Regions from separate parts of the Homo sapiens genome. Here region 1 is linked to region 2. Evidence: promoter capture Hi-C in human tissues and cell types (Jung and others, 2019). All regions are on one chromosome and are shown on one strand. The core of a region is centred on a gene start or on the middle of the fragment in contact, and the rest is flanking DNA. Distances in the headings are between cores, read along the strand shown. Region 1 holds the start of C3orf62 (chromosome 3 open reading frame 62). Region 2 holds the start of P4HTM (prolyl 4-hydroxylase, transmembrane).

Region 1 (5,097 bases), core at 1,569-4,068, 290 kb before region 2:
CTCAAGCGAACCACCCTGCCTTGGCCTCCCAAAGTGTTGGGATCACAGGTGTGAGTCACCGTGCCCTGCCTGTGTTCATTTTTATTTGCTAATTTTTGCACACAAACATACCATTTGGGCAAGTTTCTCATCCTCAGTTTTCTCATCCATGAGGTTAGGCTGGTTGTGTGAGGGTCCACATTGGGCCTACAGTTGGAACTTCAAAATTGAAAGCCACCGTTGCTGCTATTGTGTCAAGCACAGACTGTGTGAACTGGCCTTGGGCACCTTCTCTGTTGCCCTTTCCCATGATCCTCACCACCACTTTGTGCAGTCAATGCTATAGTGAGGAAACTGAGGCTGAAGTGTTAAACACCTTACCTAAAACCACACAGTAAGTTGACACTGGATATCAGATCTCCATTGGGTTCTGTAGTTTCTGAGAGTCTGGGTGGAGCAGGAACTGGGCTGGGATTGCTGTAATAAACACATCCTGCTTGGGAATAGTGTAAAGTCAAGACAAGAAGCATTGCCTCTGGGAAATGCTTGAATCATTGTGGGAAACTGTTACCTAACCACAGACTCTGGACTCCTAGTTTTAGAGAAAGATAAATTTTTTTTTTTTTGGATATGGAGACTAAGGTATGTTGTTCACATCCCAGCTCTGCAAACCCAAACACCCAATGTTCCTCTAACTGGGATTATTCTGTAGGCTCCCGAGGCACTAAGCATTCTGTTGATGTTAGTAGCCACCTGCCTAGATGCAATGGGGGAGACTGACTTGGCATGTCCTTGTGAGAGCTATTGTTTTGCTTAAATCTTAGAAGTTTCAGCTCCTTTTATGGGTTCCCTGGTTTTGGATTATTGCACATAGCCATCCTGAAGATTGGCACTGAATAGCTCTGTTTTTTCTATTAGTTTCCCAAAATTATAGTTTAAAATCTTGGTCCCTGACAGCTCCATTTTTAGCCTTTTGATCCTTTTTGAGAAGGAACAGATTAGAAAAGAAGGTGAGTTGTTTTTTGGTTGTTAAGACACACACTGTAAACTTTTTTAATTTCAGGGGTTTTGTTTTGGGGATTTTTGTGTTTATTTAGTGCAAGCCTAATAAGCTAGCCAGATTAATTCTCTGGAGACCGCTAGAGTATTTTCTTTGTTGACTTGGCAGACACTGCATATGCGAAGAACAAACTGAATGGTAAATGGTATTACTTTGATGATAGCAACGTGTCCCTGGCCTCTGAGGATCAGATAGTGGTGAGTAGGCCATGATATGTGGTTCTTCCTCATGTCGTTATGGATTAAAGCTGGGAAGAGCCTCTATCAGGCTAGTTGGTTATTTCATCATCCTGATGTGATAGTGGGAGCTAGGTGTGACAGAGCTGGCTGGCATTCCTTCAGGGACCTTCATAAATGAGAAGCTCAGCTCTCCTCAGAGTTCTCTGCACAAGGCTCCTTCCATTTCCTGCTGCCTGGCAGGGGCAGCCATCCTCAGGTGGAAGGGTCTCCTCTGTGTGGATATGGCAGATCCTTGAGGGTTTTGGACAGCTAGAGAAAAGCTGGGGAAAATGGGTGATTTTTCCAAGCACTGAATGGTCTTTCCCCCTCTTGTATTTCAGACTAAAGCAGCTTATGTGCTATTTTACCAACGTCGAGATGATGAATTTTATAAGACACCTTCACTTAGCAGTTCTGGTTCCTCTGATGGAGGGACACGACCAAGCAGCTCTCAGCAGGGCTTTGGGGATGATGAGGCTTGCAGCATGGACACCAACTAATGCTGACTCCACGATCCTGCCACCCTGTAGCGCCAGTGTAATCCCCCAGGAGAACATCTTTGACACTCTGCAGACTGCTAGTGTTCTGTCTAAAAACCAGACAAGGAAATACCCTTCTTTTATGAGCAGAAGGAAACAAAAAAAAAAAAAGAAGACCGTTTACCTAGAAGAAGCTATGTCAAGAGGCTGAATTATTTTTATTTTTAAACAGGTGGTGAGAAATTTCTGTGAAACCTGTGAAGCTGAAAAGGGGGTGGGATGGGGGTACTCAATGGAGTATGTCTGATGGATCCCGAAGAATGGAGAGGAACACAGGCGCTGAGTATGGAGCAGCCTGGAGACCCACCCCACCTGCAGGGCTGCCCTGAGCGCCTGGATTTCTGGTTCTGATGCCAATACTAGTCACCCCAAGTAGTCTGCTCACAGTAACCCAAACCTCAAGTAAACTCCCCTTTCCCTCGCTATGTGCACTGATATGGGTTTATAATTTTCTGAAAGTTACCCACTGAAGCCCATTTCTCCGTTGAGTCATCTTGTAATTTCCAGCTTTCTCCCCGCTAAGGAAGATATCTAGTGTTGGGGATCCTGGCCCCTCAACCTCCTGTGGAACCCAGCAGTTCTGTTATATCCCCTGCTACCCTAGATGAATTAAGACGGTTAAATACTGTGTGGAACTTTTATTAGATAACACACTTTTTATTAGATAACGCTTAAAGGAAGTCAGTACATAAAACTGCCCGGTGCTGTGTCCCGTCTAGTTGTTTCCATGTTGGCTTGAGAACAGAAATCTTTGTGGGAGTTAGCCGGGAAAGGGCTCCAGTTCATGGCGATTTAGGGTAGTAATACATTTTGGTGTTACCCAGATGCTTTCTAGAACGGGTTCTTTCCTCATCCCTGCCAAGACTCTTCCCGGGGCCCCCATTCGAAAGCCCCGTCCCCACTCCCACCGCGGGGCCAGCCGCTGCGTGTGGGCAAGGCCTTAAGGAACCGGACGTATGGGTCCGGGATTTTTTGTCTGACCTTCAACCTAATCCGTGGGGGTTTGGGGCCTGCGCGGGGCACGCGCATGCGATGACCGTTGGATGGGTCGGCGTCACTGCGCTGCGGGTGAGGACAAGGACGTGGCTGCCGACTCGCCAAAGGGGGGGTGCCGGTAGGGCCAGCGGCCTGGGAGCCGCGGTGGGGCGGGAGGCAGCGGCGGGGCGGGCCAGGAAGCTGTGGGAAGTGGGGCGGGGCGTCTTTGGGGCTTCTGGCAGATGGCGGGTTCCTCCGCGAGAGCCGAGAACCGCCTACTCCAGGAGGAAAGCCCGAGGGTTGTGGGTCCTGCTATAGCCAGGGCCAAGCTCCAGGAAATCGTGGCCATTCAGGGGTAGTTTGCAGCCTCATTTGTAACATTATTGTGTTGTCCTGTGCATTTCCAATGCATTACATAAAGACATGGTCGCTTTTAGGAGAAATGTCTGAAAAACTAAGAAGATGCAGAAAGGAACTGACTGCAGCCATTGACCGGGCCTTTGAAGGAGTTAGTTATTCCCAGGAGTGCACAGGCCAGCAGAGGCTGGAACTGAGCGCCGCGCCGCTCTCCTTCTCGCTGCCCGTGCACAGGCTCCTCTGCAGAAGACATCCTCTGGCAGCCTGCTCTTCTGCTGCTCCTTTTGCTGCTGTCCCATGTGCTCCTGAGAATGAGAACCCTGCCTTTGCAACAAACCATGCCCCGGTAAATGCAAAACCACATGCTCTGTGCCCCGAGAGAAAACCTCTAACCAGCAAGGAAAATGTATTGATGCATTCCTCCATTTTGGCACCTGAAAGAGAGTCTTGGAGAACTGCAGGAGAGGGGGAAAACTGGAGAAAAGAAAATTTAAGGTGATTCTAATTTTGATGGTTTAACAGCTACAATTAAGGGGATTCTTGTTTCTGAAAAAGTTGTTGAAGATCCTAGATTTAGTTCATGACAGTGCTCTTGCCTCCTCTTGGCAGCTCTGTGACTGCATTTGGGGAGTTGACAGACATTCTTCAGAATCTGGCCTAGGAAACAGTTATATTTTGTGTATATGTTCCAGTTGAGGGGCTAGTTGTCAATCGTTGATGTCAAAAACCAGTCATGGAAACCACTTTGCAGTACCCAAAGGGGTAGTGGATGTAAAATAACCGGGTTTTAAAAATAACCTTATTTTTTAAGTTGCAGAAACAAAAGTCTTAATTCCATCTTAACTCCTGTGTTTGAATCTGGACACTGGGGCCTTTGATACCCTCCTTTGCCCACATTAGGGAGAGGCTTAATTGAAGGCTGGGCCCTACTTCCTGGCTTCATCTTTGCCTCTGCTCCCCGCTCTTACCCCAGATCTTTTTGGACCATCACCAGGTCTCTTCTAGACTTTTTCTTCTCCCGAGTAACTTGAAATTGCCTGGTCCCAGGCACCTTGACTTGGAGAAGGGATGAATGTATGAGATGAAACTTCAGGCCGGGCGCGGTGGCTCACACTTGTAATCCCAGCACTTTGGGAGGCCGAGGCGGGCAGATCACGAGGTCAGGAGATCGAGACCATCCTGGCTAACACGGTGAAACTCTGTCTCTACTAAAAATACAAAAAATTAGCCGGGCGTGGTGGCGGGCGCCTGTAGTCCCAGCTACTCGGGAGGCTGAGGCAGGAGAATGGCATGAACCCGGGAGGCGGAGCTTGCAGTGAGCCGAGATCACGCCACTGCACTCCAGCCTGGGCGACAGAGCGAGACTCCGTATCAAAAAAAAAAAAAAAAAAAAAAAAAAAAACTTCAAAGTTCTGCCATCTTGGCTGCTTCATAGGAAGGGGATAAAGAGGCCATTTAATTGGTTCAACTCCACAAGAATTTTTTTCCTTTCAACTCCACAAATATTTATATTGGTACTCATAAGCAGTGCAGGCCTTGCCGGGTGTGGTGGCACGCCTGTAATCTCAGCACTTTGGGAGGCTGAGGTGGGTGGATCGCTTGAGGTCTGGTGAAACCCCGTCTCCACTAAAAATACAAACATAAGCCGAGCGTGGTGGCGCGCGCCTATGATCCCAGCTACTTGGGAGGCCGAGGCAGGAGAATTGCTTGAATCCTGGAGGCAGAGGTTGCAGTGAGCTGAGATCTTGCCATGGCACTCCAGCCTGGGCAACAGAGCAAGACTCCATCTTAAAAAAAAAAAAATGCTGGGCACAGTGGCTCACGCCTGAATCCCAGCACTTTGAGAGGCTGAGGCGGATGAATCACCTGAGGTCAGGAGTTTGAGACCAGCCTGGCCAACATGGTGAAACCCCGTCTCTACTAAAAATAGAAAAATTAGCTGGGTGCCGTTGCGGCCGCCTGTAATCCC
Region 2 (4,660 bases), core at 2,047-4,546:
GGCTTCATGGCTTACTTAACCTAACATCAATATGAATTAGATATATACAGATCCCAGGAAGGCTGCTGAGAGAAAACAGTGCCTCCTCAGATGTGTCTGTTCATAGTAGTCGTTAGTAGTGTAGTAGTAATGGGGTGAGTATTAGTTCCTTCCTGGACCCCTCTTTCCTGACAGTCATCTGGCTTTATCCCATACTTCCCACAAGTCGTTGCTCAGATTTTTTTTTTTTTTTTTTGAGATGGAGTTTCATTCTTGTTACCCAGGCTGGATGCAATGGCACAATCTTGGCTCACCACAACCCCTGCCTCCTGGGTTCAAGCGATTCTCCTGCCTCAGCCTCCCAAGTAGCTGGGATTACAGGCATGTGCCACAACGCCCTGCTAATGTTGTATTTTTAGTAGACGGGGTTCCCCCATGTTGGTCAGGCTGGTCCCGAACAACCTGACCTCAGGTGATCCACCCGCCTCGACCTCCCAAAGTTCTGGGATTACAGGCGTGAGCCACCGCGCCCAGCCTTGCTCAAATATTTTTTTCAGGCAGGTCCACCTTGGCTACCTTATTAAGGGTTCCAGCCAGGCATGGTGGTTCACACCTGTAATCCCAGCACTTTGGGAGGCTGAGGAGGGCAGATCACCTGAGGTCATGAGATTGAGACCATCCTGGCTAACACGGTGAAAGCCCGTCTCTACTAAAAATGCAAAAAATTAGCCGGATGTGGTGGCGCATGCCTGTAATCCCAGCTACTTGGGAGGCTGAGGCAGGAGAATCACTTGAACCCGGAAGGCGGAGGTTGCAGTGAGCTGAGATCATACCATTGCATTCCAGCCTGGACAACAAGAGAGAAACTTAGTCTAAAAAAAAAAAAAAAAAAAAAGAGTTCTAATCCCAGCTGAACTTCTGCCTTACTGTCTGCTATTTTTTTTTTTCTTTGAGATAGGGGTCTCTCTCTGTTGCCCAGGCTGGAATGCAGTGGTGCGATCTTGGCTCACTGCAACCTCTGCCTCCTGGGTTCAAGTAATTCTCATGCCTCAGCCTCTTGAACAGCTGGGATTACAGGTGTACACCACCACACCCGGCTAATTTTTGTATTTTTAGTAGAGATGAGATTTCACCATGTTGGTCAGGCTGGCCTCAAATTCCTGACCTGAAGTGATCTGCCTGCCTCAGCCTCCCAAAGTGCTGGGATTATAGACATGAGCCACCACGCCCGGCCCTGTCTGCTATTTTATGTTGGCAAAAAAGAAAAAAGAAAAAAAATCTGCCTTACTTGTTTGCAATCACATATCACCATCTGACACACCAATGTATATATTTATTTGTTTGTTTATTGTCTGTTTCCTCTTCATTTGAATGTCAGCTTCAGGGTTTTGTTTCATTGTTTATATTTAGTTCAATGCTGTGTTCCTGGCACCTAAAATAGTGCCTGGCACAGACTTCAACGTTACTCAATAGTAATAGTAATAATAACAACAACCAGCTTTGGGTGCCTCTCCCACAACAGGACTGACAGCATAATCTATTTCCCTACAAACAGCATGCATATGACATCATTCTGACAGGTCTAGGCATAATCCCCAACCAGGACCCTCTGCCTTGGAGGTAATGACTTGTGCTCAGATGTTCTACTTTGGCCCCAGCTCCTAACCCATTCCATCCCCCGGCAGGCAGGAATGGCCCTGGGTTTGCAAATATGTTTGTCACGGAGGCCAGGTACCCAGGGCTGGGCTACACAAACACCCTGGACAATGTCCATGGGACTAGGGGTCCCCACCCAGTTGACACTGGTGGTCTTTGAAGGACTCTGGGGTCTTCACAGCTCGCACTGTGGCTTTACTGCATAGGCCTTAGAGGCAGGCTATGTGGGTTCTAATCCTAGCTTCACCACTGAAGTAACCGTGTCAGCCTGGCCAAGCCACAGCAGCTCTCTGTCCCTAACTTTCCCCCTCACTGGCCTGAGTAGGATCTACACCCACTTCACAGAGGGGTTGCAGGAATTAAATGAAATAATCATATGAAGGCAAGCACATAACTAGAGCTCAGAAACGATGAGCTATGTTGTGGCTCCAACTGGAGTCACCCTAGAAAGCTTTGCCCATGATGGCTGAACAAAGACTTCACCTTAAGAAGAATCTCAGAGTGCTGGCAGCAAAAGCTGAGCCTCTGACTGGTACTCCAGTGGAGGAGGCTGGGGGGGTACCAGTTTATCTACATTTGGACGGCCTGCTTCTCATCAGACCACAAGGCCCACTTCGGCAGTGGGATTTTCCCCAGAGGTCCTGAGGTCGGCAGAAAGCTGGTTATCAGTCTCCCACCTTCCTCCCAGTTCTAGAAGGTGACAGAATTAATGGTGGCACGGAAGACAGGTGCAATGAAACGTTTAGACACCAGCCTCAGGCTCACCCTGCCAGCCCTGTGATGGAAGAATGGACTGCAGGGAGTTGGGATAAGAGGGAGTGTTACCCTATTTCGAGGACGGGGAAGGTCCTTCACTTTGGTAATCCTCTGGAAGGGCTGCTCTGAAGCAGCCATTTTCAAAATAGAGGTCACGTGGTCACAACGAGCCTCAAGGTGGCCACCAAACCGCAGCCCCTGGCCCTTCCCAGGAGTATCTGGCGGACTTACCGAAGAGCAGCGGCTTGAGGCTGAGGGTTCGGATGAAGTGATCCCTGTCGGTGACCAGCTGGACCTTACGCTCGTGCCCCACCTAAGGAAAAGGCGCACAGCGGGCAGCTGGGGCGCCAGACCGCGCTGCCCAAGAAGGGCCAAGTCGCCCCGGCCCGGAGAGCGACAGCAGGCGAGTGAGTGGGAGCGCGCGGGACCGACGCAGAGCAGCGCCGGGGGCAGCGTGGGGACCCGGGCTGAGCGCCGGTCCTCTCGGGCTCAGCCGTGCAGGGCCTGGAGCGCGGCGGGGCAGGGAGGTCCTCACCTTGATGCCCTCCAGCCGGGTGAGGGGACCTAAGGTGGGCTCGGGCCCGGGGCCCTGGGCACGGTGTTGGGGCCCGGGATCGCTGCTTTCGTCGCCGTTGCTGTAGTGCACGAAGAGCAGCAGCGCCAGCACGTTACCCAGGTACAGGTGCACGAACACCATCAGCACCAGGAAGTAGGCGCGCGAGCAGATGCCGCGGGGCTTGCACAGCGGACGCACCGGTGCGTCCTCGCCGTCGCCCAGCCCGGCCGCCGCCTGAGCCTGGCAGTGGTCTGGCGGCGCCCACTGCGGCCTCGAGGCCTCCTCGGCCGCCGCGGTCTCAGGCCGCTGGCCTGTCACCGCCGCTGCCGCCATGGCACCCAGGTCGCGCGCGCGCCCAGGGGAGGGGCCGCGGGGGTGCCCGCGCTGCGCAGTCGCCCGGACAACGGCCGCCAGGCCCGCGAGCGCCGCGGTCACTAGGAGACGGTGCCTGGGGGTGCTGAGCCCGCCCGGAGCCGCCTGCGTCCGCGCCGGGCTCGGCCTTCCTGCGCCTTGAGCCCCAGCCCACGCTGGGGCTTCTCTTCCCAAGCTGGGTTGCCGTCGGGCAGAGCTGTACACTCTCCAAGTCAGAAGCCAAGGTCCCAAGCGTAGACGCGGACAAGAGCGGCACCATTAAGGCATACACTAGTGGGAGCTTCTCGGTGCCTGCGTGAAGACGCCCTCTTGCCTCCGGGAAAAGTATCGTCTGCATCTTCTTGCTCCAGGAGCGGGGGTGGGGAGCGCAGCGCGGAGGAGGCAGCGCTGAGATGACTCAACAGTGCGGCATTTGGGGGCGCCGCGGAGGCTGGGACTGCGTAAGCGGCGATAGGGTAGGACCCACAGCCTCCTCGCAGGCATTCTTGGAGCTCGGTTCCGCGGTCGGTCCGGATCTCCCGGGAAGTCTCGCCGGAGTCAGGCAGGCCTTAGGAAGAAGCTGCCTGATGTGCAAGGTTTCATAGGCCGTCAGAGGGGGCATCCTGGAGGAGCCCTGGCATCAGGAAAGTGAGCCCCCCATGGCAGCCCGCAGGAATGAACCAGTGCTCAGGTATATGGAACACTCCTTGCATCAAAGCTGGCACGTGTGAAGAGGCGGGAAGGGACTCTTCCATAACTGAGACACCATTACCTCAGAGAAAAATTAAACAGATTATCACCAAAAACGGGGGTGGGGGGAGGACATACCTACCAGTGGTCAAGTGCCAAGGCATCCCTGCTCTTCTAGAGCTGGTTATCCTCAGGAAGAGATTACTACACGCCCTCAGGGCAGAAGCTGACCCCCCTCCCCGAGGTGGACTTGCAGGCAAGAGCAACACTTTTAAGGCAGGTCACACTGGTGGTTTCTCCCTACCCTGGTTAAGACCCCCACTACCTCTACTCCCATCTCCTCTCCCTTCCCCATAGCAAAGCATAGTCTGCATTTTCTAGTCCCCTCAAGTCAAGGCAGGCCAGGGGCTCCAAGGGCAGGCCCACCTCTTTCTTCTAAGATTTTTTGTGTGTGTGTGACGGAGTCTCACTCTGTCGCCCAGGCTGGAGTGCAGTGGCGCGATCTTGGCTCACTGCAACCTCTGCCTTCCGGGTTCAAGCAATTCTCCTGCCTCAGCCTACCAAGTAGCTGGCATGCGCCACCATGGCGGGCCAATTTTTTTTTTTGTATTTTTATTTATTATTATTTAGTTTTAATTTTTTAATTATAATTTTTTTTTTTTTTTTGATACA

Evidence for each region. Contacts are between HindIII fragments. The study calls those that stand out against the background at their distance.
Region 1: a contact is called between the fragment with the promoter of C3orf62 here and the fragment with the promoter of P4HTM in region 2, in 1 of the 25 tissues and cell types used here (small bowel).

What each region holds. Positions count from the first base shown.
Region 1 is chr3:49,274,953-49,280,049 of GRCh38, reverse strand. C3orf62 (chromosome 3 open reading frame 62) reads left to right here and starts at 2,818. Exons shown (of 3, transcript NM_198562.3): 1 at 2,818-3,623. The coding sequence starts at 3,178. USP4 (ubiquitin specific peptidase 4) reads left to right here. Exons shown (of 22, transcript NM_003363.4): 21 at 1,148-1,236; 22 at 1,599-2,906. The coding sequence ends at 1,757. RefSeq lists a silencer at 2,795-2,994 and an enhancer at 3,135-3,204. The HindIII fragment of the contact is 22,568 bases long and covers 1-5,097 here.
Region 2 is chr3:48,988,877-48,993,536 of GRCh38, reverse strand. P4HTM (prolyl 4-hydroxylase, transmembrane) reads right to left here and starts at 3,296. Exons shown (of 9, transcript NM_177939.3): 1 at 2,927-3,296; 2 at 2,623-2,704. The coding sequence starts at 3,280. It overlaps LOC124909376 (a long non-coding RNA gene), which reads left to right and starts at 3,665. Exons shown (of 2, transcript XR_007095903.1): 1 at 3,665-3,989. RefSeq lists enhancers at 2,324-2,885, 3,543-3,702, 3,450-4,012, 4,013-4,576 and a silencer at 3,053-3,432. The HindIII fragment of the contact is 19,056 bases long and covers 1-4,660 here.